Linked DNA regions of Homo sapiens: region 1 is linked to region 2. Evidence: promoter capture Hi-C in 16 types of primary human blood cells and fetal thymus (Javierre and others, 2016). All regions are on one chromosome and are shown on one strand. The core of a region is centred on a gene start or on the middle of the fragment in contact, and the rest is flanking DNA. Distances in the headings are between cores, read along the strand shown. Region 1 has its middle 100 kb from the start of LINC01036. Region 2 holds the start of PDC (phosducin).

Region 1 (7,250 bases), core at 2,797-5,296, 530 kb after region 2:
ATTGGACTATTGCTATGAAAGATTCTCATATTCACTGCTTTCAAACGCAAAAGTTGTTCATCCTAAACTCAAGTGTGAAACTTTTAATTTAATTTAATTAATTAATTAATTTTTTTGTGAGACAGAGTCTCACTCTGTCACCTAGGCTGGAGTGCAGTGGTGTGATCTTGGCTCACCACAAGCTCCGCCTCCCAGGTTCAAGCGATTCCCCTGCCTCAGCCTCCCGAGTAGCTGGGACTACAGGTGCCCGCCACCACACCCAGCCAATTTTTAGATTTTTAGTACAGACGGGGTTTCACTATGTTGGCCAGGCTGGTCTCAAACTCCTGACCTCTTGATCTGCCCGCCCCAGCCTCCCAAAGCGCTGGGATTACAGGTGTGAGCCACCGCGCCTGGCTGAAACTTTTAATTTTAAATCATAGGTTTTTTTTCTGAAAGATGAATATATAATTTTTTCAGAAAATGGTATATGTTTATTCATTAAGTAGAAAATATATGTGTAACCACTTCTAATGTAACATTTCCCTTGGCTAATATTATCCTGGACTGCTTATCCAACAACCAGTGTAGTTGACCTCAGAGAATAATCCAAAAAAGTGGTAAGGGCTGAATCAAGCTTAATAAGTGGCCTACCTCTTGCATCTGCAAGATTTGTCTTGGGAACACTGTATGACACAACTGTGGCTGCAGTTGCAGCTGAACTGTTATGGTTCAGAATGTTCCAAAGCTCAGGTCTTCCTCTTCTTAACTGTCTGCCATTCTTCTTTCCTTGAATTATCTTTCTTTAAGCTCTTTATTCATTTTTCTTTTTATCCTCTCACCTTTCACTTTTCTGCCTATGAGGAAAGACAAAAAACAATAAAAGGAAGCCTTGAACGTTCATTCTATTGTTCATTGATTTATGCCTATGGCAAATGAGTGCCTACTGCATGCTGTCAAGCATGTTGCAGGATCCCAGGATCTAGGGGCACAAAAGTAGAAAAAACGGACCGAAGTGCCTGCCTAAGGACCTTGCATTCTGGTGGAGATGACCAAAGATGATAAACATGACACAGACATATGTTGAATGTTAGAGAGTGATAAGTGCTAAGAAGAAAAAGCAGGAAAAAGAGGAGATGGGATGTGTTAGAGGTGTGTAATTTTACAGGGGGTCCTAGAGAAGGCCATAATATGAAGGTGACATCGCAGCAAAGAGGTGAAGAGCTGAGGGAGCAAGACCTGAGGCTATCCAACGGAGAAGCACTGCGGGCAGAGGAAATAACAAATCAAAGTTCCCTGAGGTAGAGCACCAAGCATATTCCGGAAACAGAGAAGGGACCAACGTGCCTAAGGCAGAGTGGGAGGTGTACAATTAATTTTCTCTTATTTGTTCAAACTTTGGCAATATTGTTTGCATTTGATTTATCCTTCCAAATACCTCTGTAAAGAAACAAGACCAGAGAGGTTAAGAAATATGTCCAAGATGACTAAATTCTGAACCAGGTCCCTATGCTGTTGACCCTATGGCCTGTATATCACCATCTATGGTGCCCTCTAGAAACAAATTAGATGAACACTTCAGTGACAGTCATTATAAAGCTGGGACCAACTAGGACACTTGCTTTCCCTTTGTTCACATGCTTTTAGTTTCTTAACTACAATAACAGAGGCTTTTCATCTAATTCAGCTTTGCCATTTTTTCATTTATGAATTTACTAGAATTCTGATTTTATAAAAACACACATTGGGTGGCCAGTTAAATCTGTACATTTTTTTTTTATTATTTCTTTGTTCCAAAGAATGACTGACAAGTGAGATGTCCCCTTAGTCTTCCCCAAAATGATCAACGTGCCCTAGTAATTTCGGCTTGGCTCTTTGCCTTTTTCACGCAAGCACAAGTGTTCTAGTTTGTTCATTGTTCACGCCATGACAGGGCTGCTACTTTACCTCATCCATGAACAAGCTGTGCAATTTCAGGGTTTTTTTTGTTTTTTGATAAGCAATGAAAGCAACAAAATAAAAGCTTGGTGTGTGTATGTATATATCTAATTTCATTTCTTCTGAAGTATACAATTTTAAACTTTTCATGAATACCTTTGTTCTAACATGGAAAACACTTTATAAAAGTTTCAACAGTAGTTCCTCTTTCTTTTTCCTTTCCCCTTCTCTTTACCTCCTTAAACAATTTAATCCCAAAGCCATGGGAATCAATGGGGAATCAAAGTCAGACACCAAAACCTGAGATGGGAGGGCATCCATGCAGAGGAAGGTGTGGCACAGACAGTGCAGCTTGCTTACACATGGGGGAACCAATGAAGTAATTAAATATATGAAATATAATAAATATAATGAGTGCCAGTTTTCTCACTGGAATGGAGTTACAAATATGAAAATGAAGAAAAACAGAAGGTTGTGTGGTGTTAAGTTGAAGTAGGAGGTATTAGTATGAATTCACGGGTTTTAGTATAAGTAGAGATATATAGAATAAACAGACATGAAAGTGGGTGTGTGTAGAGATTCTGTACGTCTGTCACTGAGAGGATCTGGGAGCGGTGATACTCCCAATAGCAATGAGCACAGCTGGACACAGCAGTTGGCTTTCAAATCCCATCATATAACAACAGAAACCTAGGATCCTCAAGGAAGTGGCTGATTCTAGGTCGGACAGAACAAGTATAAAATGATGCTAGACCATTTTATTTTGCCACAGTACAGAAGTGCTCAAAGAATGATAAGGACATGTCAAAAAGACACATAAGCCAGCTTGAAGGGACACCTACTGGCTCTTTTTGGAAAAAATTAAACATTCAAATAAATAATGTTGGCAACAGATTATGATCCATTGAATAATATAGGAAACAATGACCTCATTTGATGTAAATAGATAAATAGATTAATAAGGAACCAGATATTTACATAATCTCAAAATACTTCCTCTTATAAAATACTTAATTACAAAGGGAAAAAAGTAACTTTGTAGTAGAGAAACCTGGCAGACTAAGTAATCAAAACTGGTGTTCTCAAAAGTGAGGCAAACCGAAATTGCCCCACTTGGTAGAATGCAAAGAGAATGTAGCATTGCTTCTGTGATAATCCTGCCATAGATGCAGCACCTGAATCTAATCACGAAGAAGTGACAGGCAAACTCAAATTGCAAGAAATGTCAAGTATAGCCATCTGTCATCTTCAAAATTGTAAAGATTAGGCAAGTCAAGGAAAGACAGAACTGTTCCAGACTGAAGAAGACTAAAGAAGCATGACAACTGAAAGCAACATGGGATTCTGACCTGAATTCTTCCATTCATGTTTCACCAACTGTTCCACTGACAGATAAAAGATGCCAGCAGAACAACTGGTGAAATATGAATGGGCTCTGAAGAGTTGGTCATAGTAATGTATCAATGCTAATATCCTGATGTGATGCTTATATTGTGGATAGGTAGCAGATTATCCTTATCTGTAGTAAGCACACATTAAACTATTCAGGGTGATGGAACTTCATGTTAGTAACTTATTCCTAAATGGCTCAGAGAAGAAAAACATCTCTCCTATCACATTTGCAACTTTTCTGTAAGCTCCACAGTGTTTCATACTGTTAAAAATTACTTAAAATTAGCAACAGAATTTCAGTTGGAGGATTCTCTGAACAAATTAAAGGAGTTTACATCAGTGGCTCCCATTTCATATCCATACTCTTTTAACTCTTTTTTCTACAGCTGATCAATGTAAATCCTACTATTTATATATTTAATAAAAACAAATAAAGAAAATAAATCACAAGCTAAAAATTCCACAGAGCTGCTTTCACCAAATAGTTTAAGGGTTAGAGTTTTGTGACATCCTAGTGATTTTTATATTTCTTCTATTACTGTACTACCAAATTAAAAATCCAATTAATTAACGCCACCTTTCGCTGTATAAGCATAAGAGCGAAACAAGGAATAGCCAATAATAAAAATGTGGCGAATAGAAGAGTTGCATTTTGGTTGAATTCTCTAAACACTACAGATCAGTAAGCATCTATTGTGTCTTATACATGTAAGATGCCACACTTGATTCTGGAGAGAAACTGTAGCAGGTACTGCTGTTGTTCTGTCCAGATCCCCTTTTCCTGGTCAGACACTCATCTCCAAGCTGCTGTGAGTATTGGCTGCTAAAAGTCTACAGCTGCATTCTTATTCTGAGAATTGTTCTCAGCTGATGAGATATGGTTGGTTTTGCCTTCCTCCTGAGGAAAGCTGCAACCAGTGACTAACTGATGAGGGGTTACAAAGAGCTCTGAATGCCTGTAATGTGTATTTATTATAAATAAGGATAATTCTGTGATGTTTTTCATGCTCAAGAGTTTTCCCTGGGATCAGGCTGAGATAAGACTTCAACTAAACCCATTTCTTTACTGAGGTTTTCTCCCTCTTTTATCTTTCTTCACTCCTCATCAGGTTCATCATCGCACACTCCTTCAACGTATTACATGAGAACCTTTATCTCAGTCTTTTTCTATAGAACCTGACCTAAGATAGATACCAAAATACATGAGACTTGATTCTTCTTTCAAAGAGTTTACAAACTGAGTCATTACAACTGGGGTAATTATGGGAAGTTTTCATGGAGAATTAGCTTTTAGGCTGAGTATTAAAAGATAAGTAGAAATTCAAATAGGATTTAGGAGGCAGGTGATTTCTCTCCTGGAGTGAGCTTATTACCTCCTTGTTGTGGATTCTATATTCTTCAATGCATTTTAATATTACTTTAGGATTTGTTTGGCATCCATCCACTGGCATACATTATATTCAAGAACTCTTAAAACCTCAAAATATTTTGGAAAGTAATTTAAAAATATATGTTGAAACAAGCTAACTCTAACCAGATGAAATTTAACAGGAACAAATGGAGAACCCTGTACTAGAATTCAATACACCAATAGTAAAGACGGAAAGAAGATGTAGAACATTAAAATTTTAAGGTAGGCATTGTCTAGAATGTCCAAGAAAAAAATGACTCCTAGAGGGCTAGCAACAATGTCTTAAATCCACTCAAAAAACTTTTATTAAGATTATGCTTTGTATTAGGCATTTATATGGGAACCATTTCACAGCACAGATGGTAGAGCTATTATAGTTGTCTTCAAATAGTCTCAGCTTGGAATGAAAAACATATCACGCAAGTTGCCACTCTCCCTTCCAGAATTCCTGGCAAATACAGCCACTGAATCATTTATTTTTCATTGATGAATCTGGATGTAGTTTTAGATTCCTGCTCAGCCATGTGCCCCACGTCAGTCATACCAATTGATTGGAATTGGCAGAAATAGAAAATCATGACTAGGTTTCTAGTGGAAGAGGAATAAGGCACTGCGTGAGTCCAAATAAGGAAGAGGTTTCTACCAACTAGATTGTTTAAAAATGAAATAAAATCCGTGATGCAAATAAATTTTTATCACTGTGGTTATTCACATATTCACAGAAGATGAGTTCGGGGGATTCATTTATTGGTGAGTAGTAGGGGCCAGTTTAGATGGTTCCATGGTACTTTATTACTCAGAGTATATAAGCTGTGGCACTGTTTCTATTTTAGATGAGGATTTTTGCTAATATATGATAATAAACCTATGGTGATATTTTAAATTGGATAACTAGTTGGAGAGGGAAATATTTTAGGGAAGATTCAATTATTGCTGTGCTAAAACTCATTATGTAAATTATTGTCTGAACCTCTTGAATATTTTGCCTGCTGCAAACAAAGCAGTTTTTAATAATAATCCCTTTTCCCCAGTGTTTTAGTGTGAGCTAATTTCCTCTTACTCTAAACTGAGTGAATACAAACACGATGGCAAATATGACTACATATGGAAAACACTATGAACATACCATGGCTAACATATAGTATGTTTAAACATACCATGGCTTACAAGGCCCTTCACATCCATTGCCTAGTCTACTTTTAGTCTGATTTCCTTTCATCACTTCCTCACTCACCCTAAACTTCAGCTACGCCTCTCATCATGCTCTGATCATTCATTGCATTGTGCCCTTTCACAATTCCTTTGTGCAATTTTTCTCTTCTGGTTTGTTCTGCTAGATCTAGTTGAAATATTATTTCTTCAGTGAAGTTTCAAGCTTCCCTCTGCAGAGTTAAGCATGACCCTTAGCTCTAAGTGTGCTCTAACCACTGTGTCTCTATACAGTGACAGCATTGATACTTTCAGAGGAAATCACAAACCCATCCCAGTCCTGGTTTCTGACTTTCATCAGCTAAGTTCTCATTCAATTAGTTCCTGGTTTAGTTATTAGCATTTGCATTGATCTACTTGCAGCAAAATGCTATACTAAACACTAAAGCATAAAAGGAAACAGTGATGATGTTCAACAGCTCCAAAAATCATGATGAGATGAGGTTAATGGAACAACCACATAATTATATTAAACATAGAAAAAAAAACTAGAAAAAGAAACAAGTCCCCAACAGAAGCCACATTAGAATAAATTCTAGGTTGAATGGAGTACAGGAGTCCAGAAGACTGTTCTTACAGGTCTCACTGAAGACTGAAGCAAGTTTCATCAACCTCCAATTTGGCCCCTATATTGTTATCAGAGTCTCCTTTCAAAAATGCAAATTGGATTGTCATTTACCTGCTCAGAAGCTCTTAATGGCTCTTCATTCACTGAAGGAAAATAGTCCAAACTCTAAAGAGACATATATTGCCTACTGCTATCTAGTTTCTACCGATTTCATTTATCATGAATTCCCTTCCCTCTCCCATTAAACTCATATCCCTCTTGCAATTTATATTCCAATTCACCACTCTACATTATTCTCTCTCATAATTACCTGCCTTTGTATTTGCTGGTGACTCCATCAGCAATGCCTTTCTCATCCCCATTCCACTGACTTAAAAACATGCCTCCAGTAATCTATAAAACACATATCCTTCTCTGGAGTCGTGGAAACATTACTTTCTCTATTACACTGCTCTCTCACTTTCTGAGGCTGACTGAGGAGTTCATTCCTAGAATAGAACCTGGCACGCAATCAGTGATAATTCTTTTTGAGTTGATTAAATGAGAGAAGAGTTTCAGAAAGTGTTTTAAATTGGCCTAGTGACATGCTTTTGACAGAAACAAAGAGGCTACTAGCCTCATCTGTTGCCATGGTATCATTCAAGTTTGTGGAGAGAGTAAAAGAGCAATCCTAATGGAGTCTGTTTTTGTTTGTTTGATTTTTTCAGCTTCCTCAATTCCTGCAATATGTGTTATTTCTGTTTTCCAGTATTC
Region 2 (7,511 bases), core at 1,727-4,226:
TATGAGCTTTAAAAGTCATAACTGAATTCTTGTTCCTAGTGAAAAGACATCCACCTATCCAAGTTTGCTATTATGACATACAGATATTCTTTTTTTTTTTTTTTTTTTTTTTTTAGAAAGAAGGTTGAGACAAGAGCACAACTTTTAATACAAAATAAAAAGAATTAAGTGGCATCTGGGACAAAAAATTAGGGAACTAAAATAATTCAAAGGAAAGAGAAAAAGTCTTGGTCATGTTTGCCAAGCTTTGAATATTAGACCTTGCTTTTTTCCCAGAGATTGTCAGTGCACGCTGGTTGTGCAATATCAACCAGGATTAGGCAGGTGTGGGAGCCACAGAAGCCACTCCACCACACTTTTAAGTCATTTCATTAGAGTCGCCTCAGAAGTCCTGGTGAGACAATCCTAGGAGTCCTCTTTGGCTGTCTTGCTTGATATTCTCAAGCAAGTCCATTCTGCTAGACGCCTGCATCTGGGTACTCCTCCCTTTTTAACTCCAGTCCCCACAGGGTCATTTAAGAAAATGTATGCATGTTTCTGATTCATAACTATATTATGATGATTATTCTTATAAACCCTTTTGACGTCTAAAAGCCTTAGAGCCACTCAACAGTCCTGTTTGGGCCAGTCTCCTGGAATATGAGAAAAGATGAAGAATGGGAGTGTTATGGAGGGCATACGCCCCTCTGATCATCACCACAAAGAGTGGAGCCCTTCATGGTCCCAGCTGAAAGCCTGGAGAGGCTGCGCGCGGTGGCTCACGCCTGTAATCCCAACGCTTTGAGAGGCCAAGGCAGGTGGATCACTTGAGCGCAGGAATTCAAGACCAGCCTGGGCAACATGGCAAAACCCCATCTCTACAAAAAGTACAAAAATTAACCGGGCGTGGTGGTGGGTGCCTGTAGTCCCAGATACTCCGGAGGCTGACGCAGGAGAATCGCTTGAACCTGGGAGGCGCAGGTTGCAGTGAGCCGACATCTCGCCACTGCACTCCAGCCTGGGGGACAGAATGAGACTCCAACTCAAAAAAAGAAAAAAAGAAAAAGAAAGCCTGGGGATATTTACCAGGACCCTTCCTCCTTTTCAGGCCCTAGATTCTAAGATCCTGCTTTGCAGATCTGAAGTGGGACCCAGGAATCTTTAACAAGCTCTAAGCCTGCCGAGTGCCTGCGATTGCAGGCACGCGCCGCCACGCCTGACTGGTTTTGGTGGAGACGGGGTTTCGCTGTGTTGGCCGGGTCTCCAGCCCCTAACCGCGAGTGATCCGCCAGCCTTGGCCTCCCGAGGTGCCGGGATTGCAGACATACAGATATTCTTTTACTTGTTCTGGAGAAAATAGAATTTTAGAAATTCATAACAGCCATCTTTTTTAAAGTATCTGTTTATCTTGTAAATATACATATTCCTGTACATATTGTTTGAATTCCATTACAGACATTATTATGAATGGTTCATATATATTTTGATAATGACTTATATAATATCAAATCCACTTATAAACATAGTATTTGGGCAGAAATTGTCATGATGAATTAGATGATCTCTAAAGTTTTTTCTAGCTTTAATATGAGGTGATTCTAAGTAGCAGGTACAATGGACAATATGTGTGTGTGTGTATATATATATATATATATATATATATATTTAAAATGGACTCTATAGTTAGAAGCTATTTTTGCAGTTAATAAAAATACTCCATTGCAAATCAATTACTGCACTCATTTTCATGATGCAAACTGTAAGGTTTATTAGTAATAATAATAACCTCCATGGAAACAAAATAGAAAAAAAAAAACCAATTGAAAGAAAATTTTCACTGAATTTAAGAAATATCAACAAACTCTGTGTTCTTTTCTTTTAAAAACATTATTTCTGTTTCATTAAATTTCTAAAGTAACCTTTCAAAACAAACATTATTTCTACTTTAAAAATTAAAAACCACCAACAAACCACCGCCACAACAACATACTACTAAGGAAAAGCCTCAAAACATGCCTTAGCGCCGGATGAATACAGCAGTCCTCACTTATCTGAGGTTTTTCTTTCTGTGATTACAGTTACCCTTGGTCAACCTTGGTCCAAAAATATTAGATGAAAAATTCCAGAGATAAACAATTTGCAAGTTTTAGATTTGCAGTGTACTGAGTAGCTTGATGAAATCTCACACTATCCTGCTCTCTCTGGCCTGGAACATGAAACATCTCTTTGTATACCATATCCACACCATATGCATTACTGTCTTGGTTATCAGATTGACTATTGCAGTGCTTGTGTTCAAGTAACCCTTATTTACTTAATAAGGTCCCAAAGCGCAAGTGTTGTGATGGTAGCATATTGTTATAAAGGTTCTATTTTATTATTAGTGATTATGGTTAACCTCTGACTGTGTCTAATTTATAAATTAAACTTTATCACAGGTATGTATGTTCAGGAAAACAACATAGTATACACACAAGGTTCAGTTTTATCTATGGTTTTAGGCATCCAGTGGGGGTCCTGGAACATATCCCCCTTGGATAAGGGGCAACTACCGCACTCCTTTTCCAACTTGGGAGCCAGATCTTCAAACATAAAGTGCAAGGACTCATCATTTATTCTCTTTAGTTCTCCCTTCACTCAAAGGAAATTTAAAATTGCAAAATGAGTTCTCCATTCATGGTCTTATTTTAACAGTCTAGAATATCAGGCTCAAAATTGCGTGTTTACTCTGAATCTGTATTAGTGAAGATGACTGGTGGAAATCACTGAAAGAGAGAAGGATACGCTGTATTTAATTGTCTTTATAGTAGATAATTCAAAACCTTATGTACTTTGAACTATTTTACATTAACACAATAATACATAAACAGTGAATCACCATTCTTTCCCCTAAGGTAAAATTTTTAAAATTATATTATCAAAAGGACTACTTGTGGACTCACAGTTTGGATCTCTGTGCCTGGTGTCCTTGTTGAGTGGGTGAGAATCCCTGTCTACTGAACTCGTCTTGAACTTCAATAGGTTTAAGCTCAGATTTAAAATCTCCAGATATTGATGACCCTTGCAGAAATAGCTCTGAACAAGTAATAGGATTGACAGAATTAGCAAGGCCAGTTCATTAATAATAAGGCAAAACCAAACAAAGAGTAGTCAGTTTATATTTTACAGAACACATTGAATAGATGAGAGACAGAGGTCATTATTAGTACTATTTATCGCAATAACATGAGTTGTATTCATTAGTCCCATAATCATCTACTGAGCACCTACTTTGTGTGAAACAAGCAGTAGCTAGGCACTAGGGTACAAAGACAAATAAACCCTATTTCCTATATCGTGAGGCTTGCAGTCTAGTGGGGGAGACAGGTAAGTAAAAAGATAATCACAATGAAGTGCTATGATTACTACAACATTGGGAGGAATAAGAGAGATACTATGATTTTCATCTTCTCTTACTACAGGCTTTTAATACAATTTTTTCAGATGGGCTGTCTTTACAGATCTACTTGCTTTCTGGATTCTAGTTTTATTGGCATTTTCTCCTTTTCACTTCTCCTTATTGTTTCTGGTTTTTACCATTAAAAATTCCTTTCCTGCTGTTTTTTAATGGAGTTTTGAGATGTAGGGGAAGTAGATGCATGTGTTTAATCTTCCATCTTTTCCTAACATCTTTCATCCTCACAGCCAAATTCTCATCTAACTTTGCCAAAGTAGGAGATTTAATTTACTCTAAGCTTAAAACTGGAAATTTTTAATTAGCAAGAGGACAAAATTTTTAATATTAATGGCAATTAAAATGAACACATTTAGATTTTTAAATTATAAGGTTTAGTCATATGTAGCTTCACCCAGAAACTTTAAGTGGATCTTAATGCAATTTAAACAGTGATAGTGTCTAAATAAATTTTAATAGTTATGTTTTATTATACTAAATTAATTTGTCATTTATTTACTCTTTGTTAGTAAGAGGGAAACCTGTCACATTTCAGAACTTTGTTTGCTTATATATTTTTTATTGTAGAATTTGATTTCAAGAATAGAGAAGAGTACATAAAATTTACAATATTTAAGAGAGTCACAACCATAAATATTTTCAAAGAGATTCTTCCAGAAATCAAAGTATTTTCTAAATTAACTTTCATTTTCATCCTTAAATCAAATTTTTACCTCCCATTTAGCAGGTTTCATGTTCCAGTTTGTGTGCTATACATATGCTTTTCAACAGAGTTTCTCAGGGCAATTCACTTTCAGTTTTTATGAACTGAGTGTTTTCTCTCTAGCTAAAGAATCTAGAATGTAGTCAGGTGCAATACAAATGTAACTTAAAAGATGCCTTCTGATGGCAAATGTGAAGAAATTTAATATTTCAGTTTGATGATAAAAAATGTCATAGTGGTTTTAACATTCAAAAAATATGTTTTAAGTTACTGTCAAATATAGCTTGGTACTCATATGTTCAAATATGTAATATAGGCACAAGCATAGAGACTTAACGGTAAAAAAAAAATTACTATAGCAATTCCTATCCTACCCCCACCTTCCCAACACAGATATTTCCATAATTTGCTTTTTATTTTGTGCTATCTCTGGCACCTGTTCACTGGAGGGATTTGGGGTCATTACGGACATCACACACTTGCCTACAATTTGGACAAGCATATCTGATCTAATTGCTTCAATTATGAATTGAGTAATTTTTGTAGATCATGAAAACTTGTCAAGAGTCAAAGCCCAAAAGGTCATTATTTCACACATATGATTCTTGATTGATGTAAAAACATTTAAAAGTATTAGAATTATATGTTGATATAGTGTTTAGATTTTTATATATGATTTTACATCCAATTTTAAGAATACTAAATACTTTACAAGGCACAAACATTATAAACCAGCTGAAAATAATCTTAGAAAACAGAAATAAAAATATTAATAATTAGGACACTTTCTGAGTGCTCATCATGCCAGGTCAGGTACTAATTGTTTACTTCGCATAATCTTTACAACAATCCCCTGAGGTAGGTCAAGTATAATTTTATAGATGAGGAGACAGGCTTGGATAAGTTTTATAACTTATCTAACTGATGCATTTATTCCCCAATATTAGTGGAATGCCTACTGTGTGAAAGCACTCTTCTGTGGACAAGGTACTTCTATATACAGCAGCAAGAAAACAGTTTTTATGTTTCAAATGTTGACATTATGTCCATGCAGACCCCAGCGTTCGAATTCAGGTATGACTTAATTCCATGGTCCACACTGTTAACCAGTAAAGTCTCCTGTTTAGGGCAGATTAAATTACCTGCTCTAAAAAGATGAAATTACAGAATTTTCTTTAAATCCTAAACAGCCTTCAGTGTAGATTCTTCTGGTTCCAAGGCTGTCATATATATCTACTTGCTCTTTTTTTTTTTCTTTTTGAGCGTGAGAAAGTTAATTGTAAGGACAGAATTGAAAGAAAACCATGAATTCCTTAGGAGTTCAAGGACAGCTATACACTCTAGTCCTAGGAGAATGGAATGTCAGCTCAAAATCTTGGAGGATACAATGCTGGAGTAAACACCTTAGCAGCTGGGAGGGGTCTGTTGATCTTCCCAGTAGGGCTCAAATACCAAGATTGCGGCTTTCCATCCCACTAACCGCATGCACTGCCTGCCCCCAACCCTGCTCCTCCCGCCGTGGCTGATCTTCTGTCACTAGTTAATACTCTTCCTAAGGCCTTCCATATCACCTTTACTTTACAGCCTGTGCTTCCTCAATATATATTTTCTTATTTGTTCTGTTTTCCATAACCCCCCTCATGGCCTTGACTCTACTCAAGACACCTATCTATAGAAGTTTTTTAAGCCTCCCATCTATTGATAACAGCTTGGCTATTTCCATGTTTCCAAATGAGTATTCTGGGAGAATATGATTTGTTTAGCCGAAACCATTTTGCTTCATTATGCCATTGGCATAATTTGGCCAAGGTCACACCCTTGGTCTAATCAGCTTTAGCCAGATGGCAAGGTTATGTGATCTACATAGGGCTCCCTTTCAGTAGGGGCTGGGGAACTTTTAGTAATAAAGGGTGTAAATGAAGCAGGCGCTGTGGCAGACATCGTTTTTACTAAAAATAAACCTTTCCTTACTTTGAACTTGAAAACATGTCCCTCAGTCTTCAAATAGCAGAATTAAATTTAGAGCTGGAAGGGCATGTTTGGAAACAAGACCATACTGCTGAAAAGACTTACCAGAATGAGATAGTCCTGTAATTTCTTCTGTTTAGGATTTTATTTCCCTTTTCCAATATGCGTTCTACTCTTTCTTGTCTGAATTTTATTCTTCTTGGTTGAGAAGAGGAAAGCAAGGTAAGAATTCCAGTTTCTCTTTCTCTTAGCAATTTATTACTCATGTAAAGAGGAGACATATCTTCCTTCATTGTCTTCTTACTATATGCATAATTTTAAATCTTTTCAAACATATTTTTGAAACCTATTTTACTTTGGATTATAGTATTCTTAATTTTATTTTATCATATTTGATTGCATACCCTTTTTTCTACCTTTTTATAGTATCCTTTAACAAATCATATGGGCATTCACTGAGATGTTACACCATCAGCCACTTTATCTTTCTCCTTTCCTAAAAATATGTGGAGATAGTTATTGTCAGAATTTTATTATCTCCTGATGTTATTTATTTTAGAGAGTCTTTGGCAAAAGAATATATAACTTTTTTTTTTAAGAGAAGGGGTCTCATTATGTTACCCAGGCTGGCCTTGAACTGCTGGGGTCAAGTAACTCTCCTGCCTCAGCCTCCCAAGTGGCTGGGATTACAGGCACCTGCCTTCTGTAATGCTTATTGCCTTCTATATATCTGTAGCACTTATTCTTCTGTAGTCAGCCTTCCTTTTCTTTTATTTTCGTAGCTTAAGTCCCTTAGTTGTTTCCTTTTGAAGGTTTACAACACATCCTTGTTACCGGCTGGTTATTTTTTTGCTGGACAGAATTAACTCTGGAGTAGCAATTTAATGTTTTATCCTCCATCTTTTGAAAAATATTGTCAAAAGATGGAGGATAGAACATTATCCTCCATCGTCAAGAAATTTTTATTTGTACTGAAGGAAGCTTCCATGATAGTCCATTTGGTTTCACTAGATACAAAGGAATACCTGAGGCTGGGCAATTTATAAAGAAAAGAGGTTTATTTGGCTCATGGTTCTGCAAACTGCACAAGAAGCATGGCATCAGTAACTGCTTCTGGTGAGGCCTCAGGAAGCTTTTATTAATGTCAGAAGGCAAAGGGGAGCTTGTGTGTCACATGGTGAAAGTGGGGCAAGAGAGACAGGAGGGAGGTCCCAGACTTTTTAACAACCAGATCTCATGTGAACTCCTTACTGCTGGGAGGGCACCAAGCCATTCAGGAGGGATCTGCTCCCATGACCTAAACACCTCCCAGTAAGGCCCCACCTCCAACTTTGGGGATCATATTTCTTTCTTTTTCTTTTCTTTTCTTTCTTTCTTTCTTTTTCTTTCTTTCTTTTTTTTTTTTTT

What was found. The method cuts DNA at HindIII sites, captures the fragments that hold promoters and counts their contacts. A CHiCAGO score of 5 or more calls a contact.
Region 1: a fragment that was not itself captured here is called in contact with the fragment with the promoter of PDC in region 2 in 4 of 17 cell types (monocytes, total B cells, naive B cells and 1 more); the score reaches 6.9 in monocytes.

Annotation. Positions count from the first base shown.
Region 1 is chr1:186,989,022-186,996,271 of GRCh38, forward strand. No RefSeq gene overlaps it. Among named protein-coding and RNA genes, the nearest start is that of LINC01036, 100 kb to the right of the region's middle. The HindIII fragment of the contact is 4,093 bases long and covers 2,001-6,093 here.
Region 2 is chr1:186,458,138-186,465,648 of GRCh38, forward strand. It overlaps PDC (phosducin), which reads right to left and starts at 2,977. Exons shown (of 4, transcript NM_002597.5): 1 at 2,922-2,977. All of the region lies in intron 3 of PDC-AS1 (PDC antisense RNA 1), which reads left to right. The HindIII fragment of the contact is 3,468 bases long and covers 244-3,711 here.